4 separate regions of the Homo sapiens genome follow, and all the other regions are linked to region 1. Evidence: promoter capture Hi-C in 16 types of primary human blood cells and fetal thymus (Javierre and others, 2016). All regions are on one chromosome and are shown on one strand. The core of a region is centred on a gene start or on the middle of the fragment in contact, and the rest is flanking DNA. Distances in the headings are between cores, read along the strand shown.

The links. Contacts are between HindIII fragments. The CHiCAGO score rates a contact against its expected background, and 5 or more counts as called.
Region 2: a contact is called between a fragment that was not itself captured here and the fragment with the promoter of EPB41L4A-AS1 in region 1, in 1 of 17 cell types (total CD8 T cells). The highest score is 5.1, in total CD8 T cells.
Region 3: a contact is called between a fragment that was not itself captured here and the fragment with the promoter of EPB41L4A-AS1 in region 1, in 10 of 17 cell types (monocytes, naive B cells, megakaryocytes and 7 more). The highest score is 11.2, in monocytes.
Region 4: a contact is called between a fragment that was not itself captured here and the fragment with the promoter of EPB41L4A-AS1 in region 1, in 1 of 17 cell types (total B cells). The highest score is 6.3, in total B cells.

Annotation. Positions count from the first base shown.
Region 1 is chr5:112,159,276-112,161,775 of GRCh38, forward strand. EPB41L4A-AS1 (EPB41L4A antisense RNA 1) reads left to right here and starts at 1,251. Exons shown (of 3, transcript NR_015370.2): 1 at 1,251-2,020; 2 at 2,428-2,500. SNORA13 (small nucleolar RNA, H/ACA box 13) reads left to right here and starts at 2,210; the gene lies at 2,210-2,342. It also overlaps a transcript of EPB41L4A not described here. RefSeq lists enhancers at 1,118-2,317, 1,136-1,345, 1,218-1,950, 1,726-1,825, 1,846-1,895 and 1 more. The HindIII fragment of the contact is 7,805 bases long and covers 1-2,500 here.
Region 2 is chr5:112,706,520-112,709,637 of GRCh38, forward strand. It overlaps a transcript of APC not described here. Among named protein-coding and RNA genes, the nearest start is that of APC, 30 kb to the right of the region's middle. RefSeq lists an enhancer at 959-1,018. The HindIII fragment of the contact is 810 bases long and covers 1,403-2,212 here.
Region 3 is chr5:111,558,620-111,561,854 of GRCh38, forward strand. The region is part of intron 1 of STARD4-AS1 (STARD4 antisense RNA 1); the gene reads left to right. Among named protein-coding and RNA genes, the nearest start is that of STARD4, 48 kb to the left of the region's middle. The HindIII fragment of the contact is 4,109 bases long and covers 1-3,235 here.
Region 4 is chr5:112,736,556-112,740,056 of GRCh38, forward strand. APC (APC regulator of Wnt signaling pathway) reads left to right here and starts at 1,330. Exons shown (of 16, transcript NM_000038.6): 1 at 1,330-1,370. The HindIII fragment of the contact is 1,642 bases long and covers 749-2,390 here.

The DNA of each region.
Region 1 (2,500 bases), core at 1-2,500:
TTCTTTCTTTTATAGAAGTAGGCTTCAAAGAAACAACGAAAGGTGCTAAAACTGGTCTCTGGATGAATCTCTGCTAGGACTTAGAGAAACATGGAGACCTAGTTGTTATCATACAACTTGTCTTGCTGCCACTTGTCCTGTCCCTTCAAGGAGTTATGGTTATCAGGAAAAAAGCCAATTAACAAACTCTGCTTAATTTTTGTGGTGATAATTAATCAACTCTAAGATTTCAGCATAAAATCCCAACACCTTGCCCTGTGTGACAAGACCCTAAGTGCCTTGCTCCTGCCTGGCTCTCCAGCTGCATCTTGTCACTCTACACTCCTTACTCGACTCCAGCCACACTGGCCAAGGCCTGCTGTCTCCAGATCTTGCATAACCGCCTTCACACATCTGCTCGGAGTTCACTTCCAGTCTTCCTATTCCTAGCCCCATGAGCTACTGAACACTTGAAATGTGTCTAGTCTGAACGGAAATGTGCTGGAAGTATAAAATATACACCGGATTTTTATGACTTAGTAGATATAAAAGAAATATCTTATTAATAATCTCATATTGATTGCCTGTTGAAATATTTAAAATATGTTGGGTTATTATTAAAATTAATTTGATCTGTTTCTTTTTACTTTTTTTTTTTTTTTTTTGAGACGGAGTTTCGCCCTTTTGTCCAGGCTGGAGTCAAGTGGCATGATCTCGGCTCACCGCAACCTCCACCCCCACCCCGCCCGGGTTCAAGCCATTTCTCCTGCCTCAGCCTCCCAAGTAGCTGGGATTATAGACGCCCGCCACCAAGCCCAAGTAATTTTTGTATTTTTAGTAGAGACGGGGTTTTGCCATGTTGGCCAGGCTGGTCTTGAACTCCTGACTTCAGGTGATCACCTGCCTCAGCCTGCCAAAGTGCTGGGATTACAGGCATGAGCCACCGCGCCCGGCGTTCTTTTCACATTTTATGTGGCAATTGGAAAATTTAAAATTACACTCATGGCTCACACTGTTTCCATCGGACAGCGCTACCCTATGGCATGACCCTCTTTTGCTGCCCTCCTGGCACTTACATTGTAGAATTTCAGCATCCGGGCTCACTTGGTCAGTGGCCTACTCACCCAAGCAGAATGTACCACAGAAACCTTGCCTGGCTCACCCACACCTGATTCCCAGGCACTCAGGCCAGGGCCTGGAGCATAGTAAGTGCTGACTAAATATCTTTCGAATGAATGACTCTACTCTTCCTCAGCTGGACTCATGAATTCTGTCGGGTCCCAAAATACGTGGTCTAAAGTCCTTTGGGCTCCTGCCGCTGCCAGCACTGATCATATGCTCTTGACCCTGGTCGGGTGGGGGGATGTCTGGATACCTCCTCTGTGGAAAGAACTGGCCACACATCCGCAGAGGTGACTCGGGCTGAGAACCCAGGCTCCTCCTCCCTTTGGTGACACGCCCCTCGGTCCCTCACTGGCACTTCTCCCTCCGGCCACACGGCGGCGTCTCGCCATAGCGCAGCGGCCGATGGTACAGCCCGCTCCCCCCTCGCGCTCTCGGACAGTGGGTCCTTCCACTTGTAGAAAAGCATTGTGGGACGGAAGCCTGTCCTTTCTTCCTTTTGGTGCGAGCTTGCTGTGGTTTTTGCTCTGGGTCCTCTGGGATGGCGCCTGGCTGTGGCCGCGTGGTCTCTCACGCAGGGGCGCCGGGCGGGGGAACGCGGCCACCCTGAGTCTGGTGAGTCGACTGCGGCGGCCTGTGTCCGAAGTGTCCGGGGCCGTGAACAAGGGCAGCGGCCTGGCCTCAGGCCTGCGTTCCCACGTTTGGAAACGGGGAGCTTCGTCGATTTGTGTTTACATCATCGACTATGCCAGGGAGTTCTCCAGATAAGCCTGGTTTTATTTTCGTCAGTGAAAAGGCCTTACCGTATAACTGACTTTATGCTTGCCCTGCCCCCGTATAAAATAACTTAAAAGCAGCGTGCCTGGTTACAGCTGTTTCCACGTGCGGTGCTCGTCGGGAGTGATCACCTACCCTACAGGTGAGTTTTCACGTTCGTGCAAGACCAGTCGCCATTTAAAACGCATCGCATTTCACTTTTCATTATTAAGTCGGATTTTAAATCGTGAGAAAATTTCTCTGAAATGTATTGTCCGTTTTTAGGCTGTAATCGGCATTACTGTCAGCCAGTCAGCAACCTTATGCCATAAAGCCTACCTCACGCAGTGTCAGCCTTTGTGTTGCCCATTCACTTTGGAAACTAGTGAATGTGGTGTCAAAAAAGGCGTAAATTAAACGCTTTGCAGCCTTTTCCTGCCCTTAAATTTGATACCTTTGGTGTAGGAGCTGCATAAGTAACAGTTGCTGCTTTTACGTTTCCACGCGTGATCTTGACCCTGCTAGCCTTAAGTGTATGGTTTCTCTTAGCCAGTTCTAATTTTTGTTCAGGTGGAAGATGGATGCCTGAAGTGTAGACTGCTGCTAGCTGAATACCATCTGGGAGCATAAAGGTGACCTGAAG
Region 2 (3,118 bases), core at 558-3,057, 550 kb after region 1:
TTCTTACCATGACCTGGAGGCCCTACCTGATTTGGCCTCTGCCTACCCCGACCACATCTCCTTCCCACTGTCCATGTCACCTATTCTTTCTGTCCCTCTTTCATGTCAGACTTGCTACCACCTCAGGATCTGTTCTGTTGTTCCCTCTGTCTGAAAGCTTTTGCCCCAGATCTTCCAGTGGCTCCTGGGCCCCCATGGTCAGTCAGGCTTCAGATTAAATGTCAACTCTGGAGAAAGATCACTAATCACCACCTCTCACTGTCCATCATCTTTCTGTGTGGTTTGCTCTCTTCCTATCCCTTATCACCATCAAACATTCTTTTGTTGACTGTCTTTTATTGTCTATTCTTTCACACTAGAATGTAAGTTCCGTGAGTTTATTGTATTTCCTATTGCTGTAAATCTAGAGCCTGAAACAGTATCTAGTATATATCGGAAACCCAAATGATATTGTTCAATTAATGTTGAATGAAATGAAACTGAAGAGGTAATCCAAGGTAAAGAACTTATCAAACTGTGTGAGACAAACAAGGATTTCCCGGAAGAGGTGTTTTTAAATTAAAACTACAGGGTGGTAGTGAGAGGTGGTAGGGAAGCAGAGGTCGCAGCTACAAAATAATAACTTGCTCATCTCCGTTTCTCCGCTATCTTATGAGCCCTTGTGGGGCTGGGACAGAATTTTATTCATCTTTCTATCATCAGCGTCTAGTACGGGGAGTAGCAAATAGTGAGCACTCGATAGATGTTTGCGGAATAATGGACTAGTGTGTGCAGAAGGATCTATTAACTGGGCTGCAGCACAATTCAGAGAAGGCCAGTAAGTGCTGCAACTGAGACTCGGCTGCCTAGGCAGCAATGGCTCACGGGACAGAACAGCGAAGCAGTGCCCGGCAAGCGGAGCGCAGCACCCATTGCGCCTGCGCATAACAGGCTCTAGTCTCCGGGCTGTGGGAAGCCAGCAACACCTCTCACGCATGCGCATTGTAGTCTTCCCACCTCCCACAAGATGGCGGAGGGCAAGTAGCAAGGGGGCGGGGTGTGGCCGCCGGAAGCCTAGCCGCTGCTCGGGGGGGACCTGCGGGCTCAGGCCCGGGAGCTGCGGACCGAGGTTGGCTCGATGCTGTTCCCAGGTACTGTTGTTGGCTGTTGGTGAGGAAGGTGAAGCACTCAGTTGCCTTCTCGGGCCTCGGCGCCCCCTATGTACGCCTCCCTGGGCTCGGGTCCGGTCGCCCCTTTGCCCGCTTCTGTACCACCCTCAGTTCTCGGGTCCTGGAGCACCGGCGGCAGCAGGAGCTGCGTCCGGCAGGAGACGAAGAGCCCGGGCGGCGCTCGTACTTCTGGCCACTGGGCGAGCGTCTGGCAGGTGAGTGAGGCTGCAGGCATTGACGTCTCCTCCCGGCAAAGCTTCCTCGGCTTTGCCCCGCCGCTGCTCGGGACCCTACGGTGCTCGGCCCGACTCTGTGGCTCTCTTCTCTCCATGTCTCACCCTCTCCCCTCCCCGCACTCCCCATTCAGGCCTCCAGTTGGCCCCTGGCTTTGCAGGTCCTCCATTCTCACGCAGTGGATGGGGGTCGCGACGCCCGCCGTCCTCCACCTTTCCTGGCTGCTGCTGGAGCTTCGCCCCTGCAAGTGGTGCCCCATTCGCGTTAGGTGGGTGGGTCGTCCGCCCTTCCCATTTTAGTCGCTTCCCCATCTTCCTCGTTTGGACCCTCTTGCTTCCTCTAAAAGTTTTAAACTCTCTGCCTGGGAAAATACCTGATAGCCCGGCATGTGGAGTTACAAAGAAAGGGCTGTTATCCAAAGGCCGGTGAATTTTGTTCACTTTGATGGGAGAATCAAGTCCCCAGGAGCCTTGGATGGTTAGGTCAGAGTCTGACTCCTTGACCCACCAAGTAGAGGAATGGTGCCTCTGTTGGCAAATGATTGTTCATCTAAATCATTCATTTTTTTCGGCTGTAGGAAATCTTTGGTCTCTGAACTGTTGAGGTGGGGGCGTGAGCTTTCTAGATCTAGTGAAAGAATTGGAAACTGTTATATTCGTTTTAAAAAAGAAGACCTTATGCAGTACATGTAAGACATCACTTAATGGTACAAGCAAGGATAAGTGATTTATTCTTTTATTCAGTGTTAGCTTAAATTGCCTACTGACGTCTTAGAATTCCATGTTGTACAAGCCCTTTGTTTCTATTTAGAAAGGACTAAAATGGAGAAAAGCTTTTTAAGTTCAAAACTTCTTAAATTGCTTGTATTCTCGATTGTTGTTACTGTTCAACCCTCCTTAGGAGTACTTGATATTTTCTATATGATTTAGTCTTGTGCCAGTCTCAGTACTCCCTCCTTTATTAGTGGAGCAAGGGTAGTCAGAATTACTGGTGTAAAAAACTGTCCTAAATAACGTAGTACCTTGCCAGAGTCTAAGTGCAAAATGTGGGATCAAAGCGGTAGTGGAGGAAGTTGCCATGGCTAATTTTTCCATCTTTCCCTGGATGGAAGGGTTGGATAACGTGTCAAGAGCCCCAAAATTGTAGAAGTGAGATTAAAAATATAAATGATAGCTTGCCCTTTGAAATTGCAAATGGGTGGACCTTTTTTATTAACATTAAATTGAGCAATATCGTTTTCTTGAAGTTATGCTAGATGTTCTCCAAAGTTGTTAAGCACAAACTATGCCTGCTGTATTAGAATTGTATGTTAAAAATTTTTAACGTGTGGGTTATAAATAGCCTGGCAGATTTGTTTACTTTTCATTCTGTCTCATAACACATAATCTATTTTTCCCTTTACTGTGGACTTTTGACCTTTTAATGCATTTTTAAAATTTAGAGATAGAATTGTTCAGCTTAAAAGAAGGAGGAATATTTTTATGTTTGCTTCTTGTATGGGCTAGTTCATTCGTTGCTAGCCTTCACTTTTCTGGAACCAGAGCCTGTGTGTTTTTAGAGCTGGTTGTCTCTGAATTCTCTGCATACAGTTTGAAGGGGCAGTAGCAAAGCAGGGGTTGCTGAGCCCCAATCAGTGGCTCACTGCTTCTGGCAAAATGATTTGTAGCTCTGTATCAAAAAACATCTGACCACAAACTCTTTAAAACCTCTCACTTTGGCAGGGTGTGGTGGCTCAT
Region 3 (3,235 bases), core at 266-2,765, 600 kb before region 1:
GTTAGAGAAGATGCTTTGTATGATACTTGCCTTTTAAAGCCTAATGAAACTTAATCTGTGGTAAAACATACAGTGTATCCTCTAAAATGTCCCATGTGCATTGGAGAAACGTGTGCTGTTTTTGTTGGGTAAAATATTCTGTATATATCTATTATTATGTTAAGTCTGCTGTTTCCTTACTCGTCTTCTATCTGGTTGTTCTAGTCATTATTTAGAGTGGCATAATAAAGTCTCCAGTTATTATTGTAGAACAGTCTGTTTCTGCCTTCAATTATGTCAGTTTTTGCTTCCTATACTTTGGTAGTTATTAGGTGCATAAATAATTTTTATTATTATATCTTCTCACTGCATTAATATTTTTGTGAATATATAATTTCCTTCTCAGTGTTTTGTAATCTTTTTTGATTGAAAGTGTATTTTGTCTGATATTAGTGTAGCCACTTCTGCTCTCTTTTTGTTACTATTTCCATAGAATATCATTTTCCATCCTTTCACTTTATTTGTATCTTTGGATCTAAAGTGAGTTTCTTATAGACAGCACTTAGTTGGATCACATGTTTTCATCCATACTGCTGTCTTTTTATTGGAAAGTTTAGTACATTTACATTTAGAGTGATTACTGATAAGAAGAGACTTCTATTATTTCACTATTTTTTATTTTATATTTTATTTTTATTATTCTATATTTCACTATTTATTATTATATTATAGTGAAGTGTTTAAATTTTTCTCATGTCTAAATTCCCATACCATGGAGATTACATTTAACATCTTAAAGTGAATATGCTTTAATTTGAATTTATACCATTTTAACTTCAGTTACGTATAAAAACTCTGCTTGTTTACAACTCTGTCCTCACCTCTTTAAGTTGCTGATGTCACAGAATTACATCTTTATACACTGTGTGCCCCAAAACATAAACTAATAGTTTTTTAAAAATGTATTAGTCTCTGAAATTGTGTAGAAAACAAAATGTGGAATTAGAAACTGAAGTTACCATAATACTCATTTTTAAACTGATTTTAATGGCTTTGTCTCTTTAATCATGGTGTAAAAAAAAGTGGAACTACAAACTGTTGTTACAATACTAGCTTTTCTAATTGCTCACATATTTACTTTCATTGAGATATTTATTTCTTCACATGACTTTGAATTACCATCCATTGTTCTTTTATTTTATCCTGCAGGACTCCCTTGATCATTTTCTTTTTTTACAGAGAAGGTCTAGTGGTAATAAATTCTCTCAGCTTTAGTTTGTCTAGGAATGTCTTAATTTTTCCCTCATTTTTGGACAACAGTTTTGCCAGAAATAGGATTCTTAGCAGAGAGATTTTTTTTTTCTTTTAGCACTTTGACTATATGACCCACTATCTTCTAGCCTCCAGAGTTTCTGATGAGAAATTTTCTGAAAATCTTATTCATGATCCCCTTTTTGTGACTAGCCACCTTTCTCTGTCACTTTCAAAACTCTCTCATTGTCCTTTGTAAGTTTGTTTATAGTGTGTCTTGGTGTGAGTTTCTTTGAGTTCATCATTGAGCTTCTTGGATGTTTATATTAACATCAACATATTCAGGAAGTTATTAGCCATTGCTTCCTCAAATATTCTTTCTGCCCCCTTCTCTCTCTCTTTCCTCCCTCTGGAACTCACACAATGTATATGTTGGTCTGTTTGATGGCGTCCCACAGATCCCTGAGGATTCTTCACTTTTCTTCAATCTTTTTTCTTTCTGTTCCTCAGGCTTGATAATTTCCATTGTCCTCTTCAAGTTTACTGCTTCTTTCTTCTGTCTGATCAAATCTGCCTTTGAATCCCTCTGCCAAATTTTGCATTTTAGTTAGTGTACTTCTCAGCTTCAAATTTTCTTTTTGGTTTCTTTCTAGGTTTTGTATATGTTTATTAATATTTCCCTTTTGTTTATACTTCATTTCTTGACTTTCTCCACATCTCCCTTTGGTTCCTTGCTCATCTTCAAGACAATTGTTTTAAAGTCTTTATCTAGTAGTTCTCTTTCAGGAGCAGCTTCTGTTGCTTATTTGTTGCTCTTTGAATGGTCAATAGTTTCCTGTTTCTTTGTGTGTTTTATAGTTTTTTTTGTTGTTAAAAGCTGGACATTTGAATCTAATATTCTGGTAATTCTGAGAATCAGTTTTTCTCTTTCCCAGGTTTGAGTTATTGTTACTGCTTTTTAAAAATTGTAGGCTGTCTCTGGGCTGAGGATCAGCCTGAGATGTAAATTTAAGGTCTTCTCATGTCTTTTCTGAGCCTTTCTCTGGGCATGTGAAGTCACTTGCTAATTTTTCCCATATATGCAGTTATTTTTGGATGCCCTATTCTTTAACGTCTGGCTCCCAAAAGGAAAAAAAGAGAAAAATAAAGAGGGGGAAGGGCATCAGCCCTTTAAATTCCACCTCTTTGTTCACCACTCTGTGATCAGAAGCAGCAATAAGTGATGAAATATCCTTGATATTTGTAGGACAGGGTCCTTTTACGCCCACCCTGGCTCCTGGTAACTCTTTACATGCTGCTCCAGGAACACAAAACAACTTCTTGCCATGAGGCTAAGAGGTGGGGGATGGACAGCTGCCAATGTGCTAAAAGCTGCAATTGACTACAGTTTTTCATCCATGCCCTCCCCTGGAAATTTCAAGTCTTCGATAGACTCCAGAGTTCCAAAACAGTTACATCAGACAGAGTCTGCCAGTTCAATTGTTGTCTACAAGGGAAGATAGAATCCTTGTGCTTCCCCCTCTGCATCGTCCCAGTATCCTCTTAAAATGAAGTAATTTTTAATTCTAGAACTAATATATTATTAAAATATTAAATGTAAATGACTAAGGAATTACATTCTGATAGAGAACAATACTAGATGAAGTTTTCTGCTAATCTGTATCCTCAGGTAAATTTTCATGAGCCTAGGCATTTGCTTTATATAATCAAGCAATGCCAGAAGAGTGGGATGGACAATGAGCAATGTAAGAATTCAAAGACAAAACAAAACACGGTTGTCTGGTATGGTTATAGATGGCTTCAAGAAGAGGTAGGACTTGATCTGTCCTTCACAGGGTCATTAGATTTGAAAAAACAAAAACAAAACAAAACAGGTTAGAGGGGAAGTTTTTTCTGGGCAGAAGGCGCAGTAGAACCATGAGTTCAATGGGAGGAAACTATAAGATGCTTTCTTTTCTACTGGACAGACTGAACCATCACAGAGGCAATATTGGGCAAAACAAAC
Region 4 (3,501 bases), core at 320-2,819, 580 kb after region 1:
TAATAGCTTGCTTCTTTTCATACTATTTGAAAATTAAGAAACGATTATAATATGCTTCATTTAAAAACTTTAAGTTTAGGCCGGGCACAGTGGCTCACGCATGTAATCCCAGTACTTGGAGGGACCGAGGTGGGCGGATCACAAGGTCAGGAGATTGAGACCATCCTGGCCAGCATGGTGAAACCCCGTCTCTACTAAAAATACAAAACTTAGCTGGGCATGATGGCACGTGCCTGTAGTCCCAGCTACTTGGGAGGCTGAGGCAGGAGAATCGCTTGAACCCGGGAGGTGGAGGTTGCAGTGAGCGGAGATTGCACCACTGCACTCGCCTGGTGACAGAGCAAGACTCTATCTCAAAAAACAAACAAAGAAAACTTGAAGTATAGTATCCTTTTAAATTTTAAATAGATAATAGAAACTGGTTTCCCCCCATTTAAACCAGAATTTAAGTTTAACTTTATATATTCTTGACAGTTTGGATTTTGTCCTTCAACCTCATAAAATTGGGAATTTAAGCATCACCTGGTTCGATTTAAATGCAATGTAGAATTTGCATTAAAATACTACATTAAAGCCTCAGATTTGTAGTAGCTAACAGCACTTCTATGTATGTGTCAGGGACTGCTCTAAATACTTCATATATATTAACTCCTCTATTCTGTACTTCTGTTCCCGTTTTATACAGCAGGAAATTGAAACACTGAGAGGTTAAGTAACTAAAGTTACAGAGCTAGAGTGACAGGAGTAAAGCTTCAACTCAGGCAACCCAGACTTCCAGAGTTCTGATCTCCACTACTAAGCTGCTAGCATAGCTTTTCTGGTAACTATTTTTAATTCAAATATAATTCGAGTGATCTATCTAACAAGTCATCACTCTGACAACTCAGTGACTTGTAATGTAAAATTATTCATTGTAATTCATTTAATATTATTGTTTCTCTGTGCTGCAAAAATCATAGCAATCGAGATGTAATTTATTACTCTCCCTCCCACCTCCGGCATCTTGTGCTAATCCTTCTGCCCTGCGGACCTCCCCCGACTCTTTACTATGCGTGTCAACTGCCATCAACTTCCTTGCTTGCTGGGGACTGGGGCCGCGAGGGCATACCCCCGAGGGGTACGGGGCTAGGGCTAGGCAGGCTGTGCGGTTGGGCGGGGCCCTGTGCCCCACTGCGGAGTGCGGGTCGGGAAGCGGAGAGAGAAGCAGCTGTGTAATCCGCTGGATGCGGACCAGGGCGCTCCCCATTCCCGTCGGGAGCCCGCCGATTGGCTGGGTGTGGGCGCACGTGACCGACATGTGGCTGTATTGGTGCAGCCCGCCAGGGTGTCACTGGAGACAGAATGGAGGTGCTGCCGGACTCGGAAATGGGGTAGGTGCTGGAGCCACCATGGCCAGGCTTGCTGCGGGGGGAGGGGGGAAGGTGGTTTTCCCTCGCACTGTCTTAAACCGATGGCCTTTCCTTGGCACAGGGTCCACTGCAGCATGCCAAACGAGGAGGCAGGGGCGTCGTCCCCCCGCCCCCCACTGCAGCACTGGAGATGGATTTCCTGTACTTCGGATCCAGGGTTTTTGACAGAAGAGGAAGAAGGGGGAGGGGTAGAAGTGTTAAGGGGAGTCTGCTGAGAAAAGCTGTTTTTGAAGCCAGAAGGGGTTTTTGTTTTTATAATGCCATTTGACAGAGTGGAATAACAGTATCTAAGGAAACGGGTAGAGGACAACAAAGAATGGAGCATATTCATGGCGAGGAGCAAAAGCTCTACCCCATTGAAAGGCTTCTTTTCCTCCCTGGCGACAAGGACACATGCATTGGTGGCCAAAAGAGAGAGGAGACAAAACCGCTGCAGATGGCTGATGTGAATCTAGTGGAAAGAGCTACTGGGGATGAGAGAAAGAGGAGGAGGCAGGTACTGCAGAGCGTGAGTGGTGGTGTTGGTTGGTGAAATACTGGTCACCAGTAGTGTGCCTGCTTTTGTAAAACATCTAAGTAAACTCCCTGTGAACAGGGTGGCAAACAGATACCAGTGTCTTTGTTAGTTACAAAATGCAGTGGTAGTGGCTTTTTGCGGACGACTGCAGCAGTGCTTTTTCTCCCTCTGTTAGGCCGAAAAGACAACTGCAGAGGAATAAGAAACCTTGCAGCAAATGCTGGGGTAGAAGCCCATTTACAAGAAGCCATAGTTTATAAATGCAGCCTGAACAGCAGAAAAAAAATTACTGTTTTTTAAAGTAGGAATAATGTCAGGCTATGAATGTTTTGTCATTGGAATGTATTGGACACTTTGATTCTACATCACGAAAGTGATGCTCAAATTCTTTGATTTAACATAAATCCTATACGAAATCTTAATAAATTATGTATGAAACAGTGGATCTTTTCTTTTGTTAGTGAAGCTTTTATGCCATTAATTAGGTCATTCAAGAGCAAACCACTTTACAACGTAAATTACTTTGTCAAAAATTATGGTGAACAAATTTTTGTAGGCCTAATATTTAAGACCTATAGTTAAGTAATTTTATATTTCTCTTTGGTTGCTTTTAGATAACACTGAATAAATATTTAAGATATTAATTCAGTGTGCAAATATTTTAAATTAAAGCAACATGGCTTTTCTTCTAGATGTATTTCTGTTTAGTGAGTACTCATGAGATATACTCTTGATATAAAGTGTTTTTCATTGAGCTTTTTTTTCCTTTACCTAAATGTAAAAGCCTATCTTTATGCATACTTATAGTAGCCAGCCTGCCACACCTCCCCACTCCCTGAACAAGGATGGCAGTGGCTTTGTAAAGCCCTCCAGGGTCAGTGACAGTGTCTCTTAAATAATGTTTATGTAATAGAAAGTCTTAAGATGACCTATTATATTGTTTCAGTAATATTTTCAAGATAATGCGGAATTGGGCTGGCTTAGATAAATAAGACTACATAAGTTTTTCACTGATAAATTTAAATAGTTCTTTAAAAAATTATTTCTGCTTTAAGAATTACTTGATCATGGATATCAGGGTTAATAGTACTTAGGAGCCGGGCGTGGTGGCCCATGCCTGTAATACAAGCTAAACAGGAGGCTGAGGGAAGCTGAGGCAGGAGGATCACTTGAGCCTTGGCGTTCAAGACCAGCCTGGGCAACCAAGCAAGACCCTATCTCAAAAAAAAGTACTTAGAGTCTCTTTTTTAAAATCTGATGGAAACTATGGCTAGAACTAAAGATGTCACATTAAAATTCCAAATGACATTTAACAGCTAATATTACTCAGTTCTTTGAATTCCATTAGCATAGTGTTTGAGAGTCTATAAAACTATTATTTTTACATAAATTACCTTTTACCATTTTAACAGCTCATTGTAGCATTATTTTTATTTTAAATGTTAGAGACTCCTATTCAAGTATGTTGTGACTTTATCCAAGGTCAAATATTGTATAACAATGTAAAGAACTTAAGTCTTCTATTTTATTCTAATTCTATAAAACTATAATGCCTTTTATTACATACATACAAAA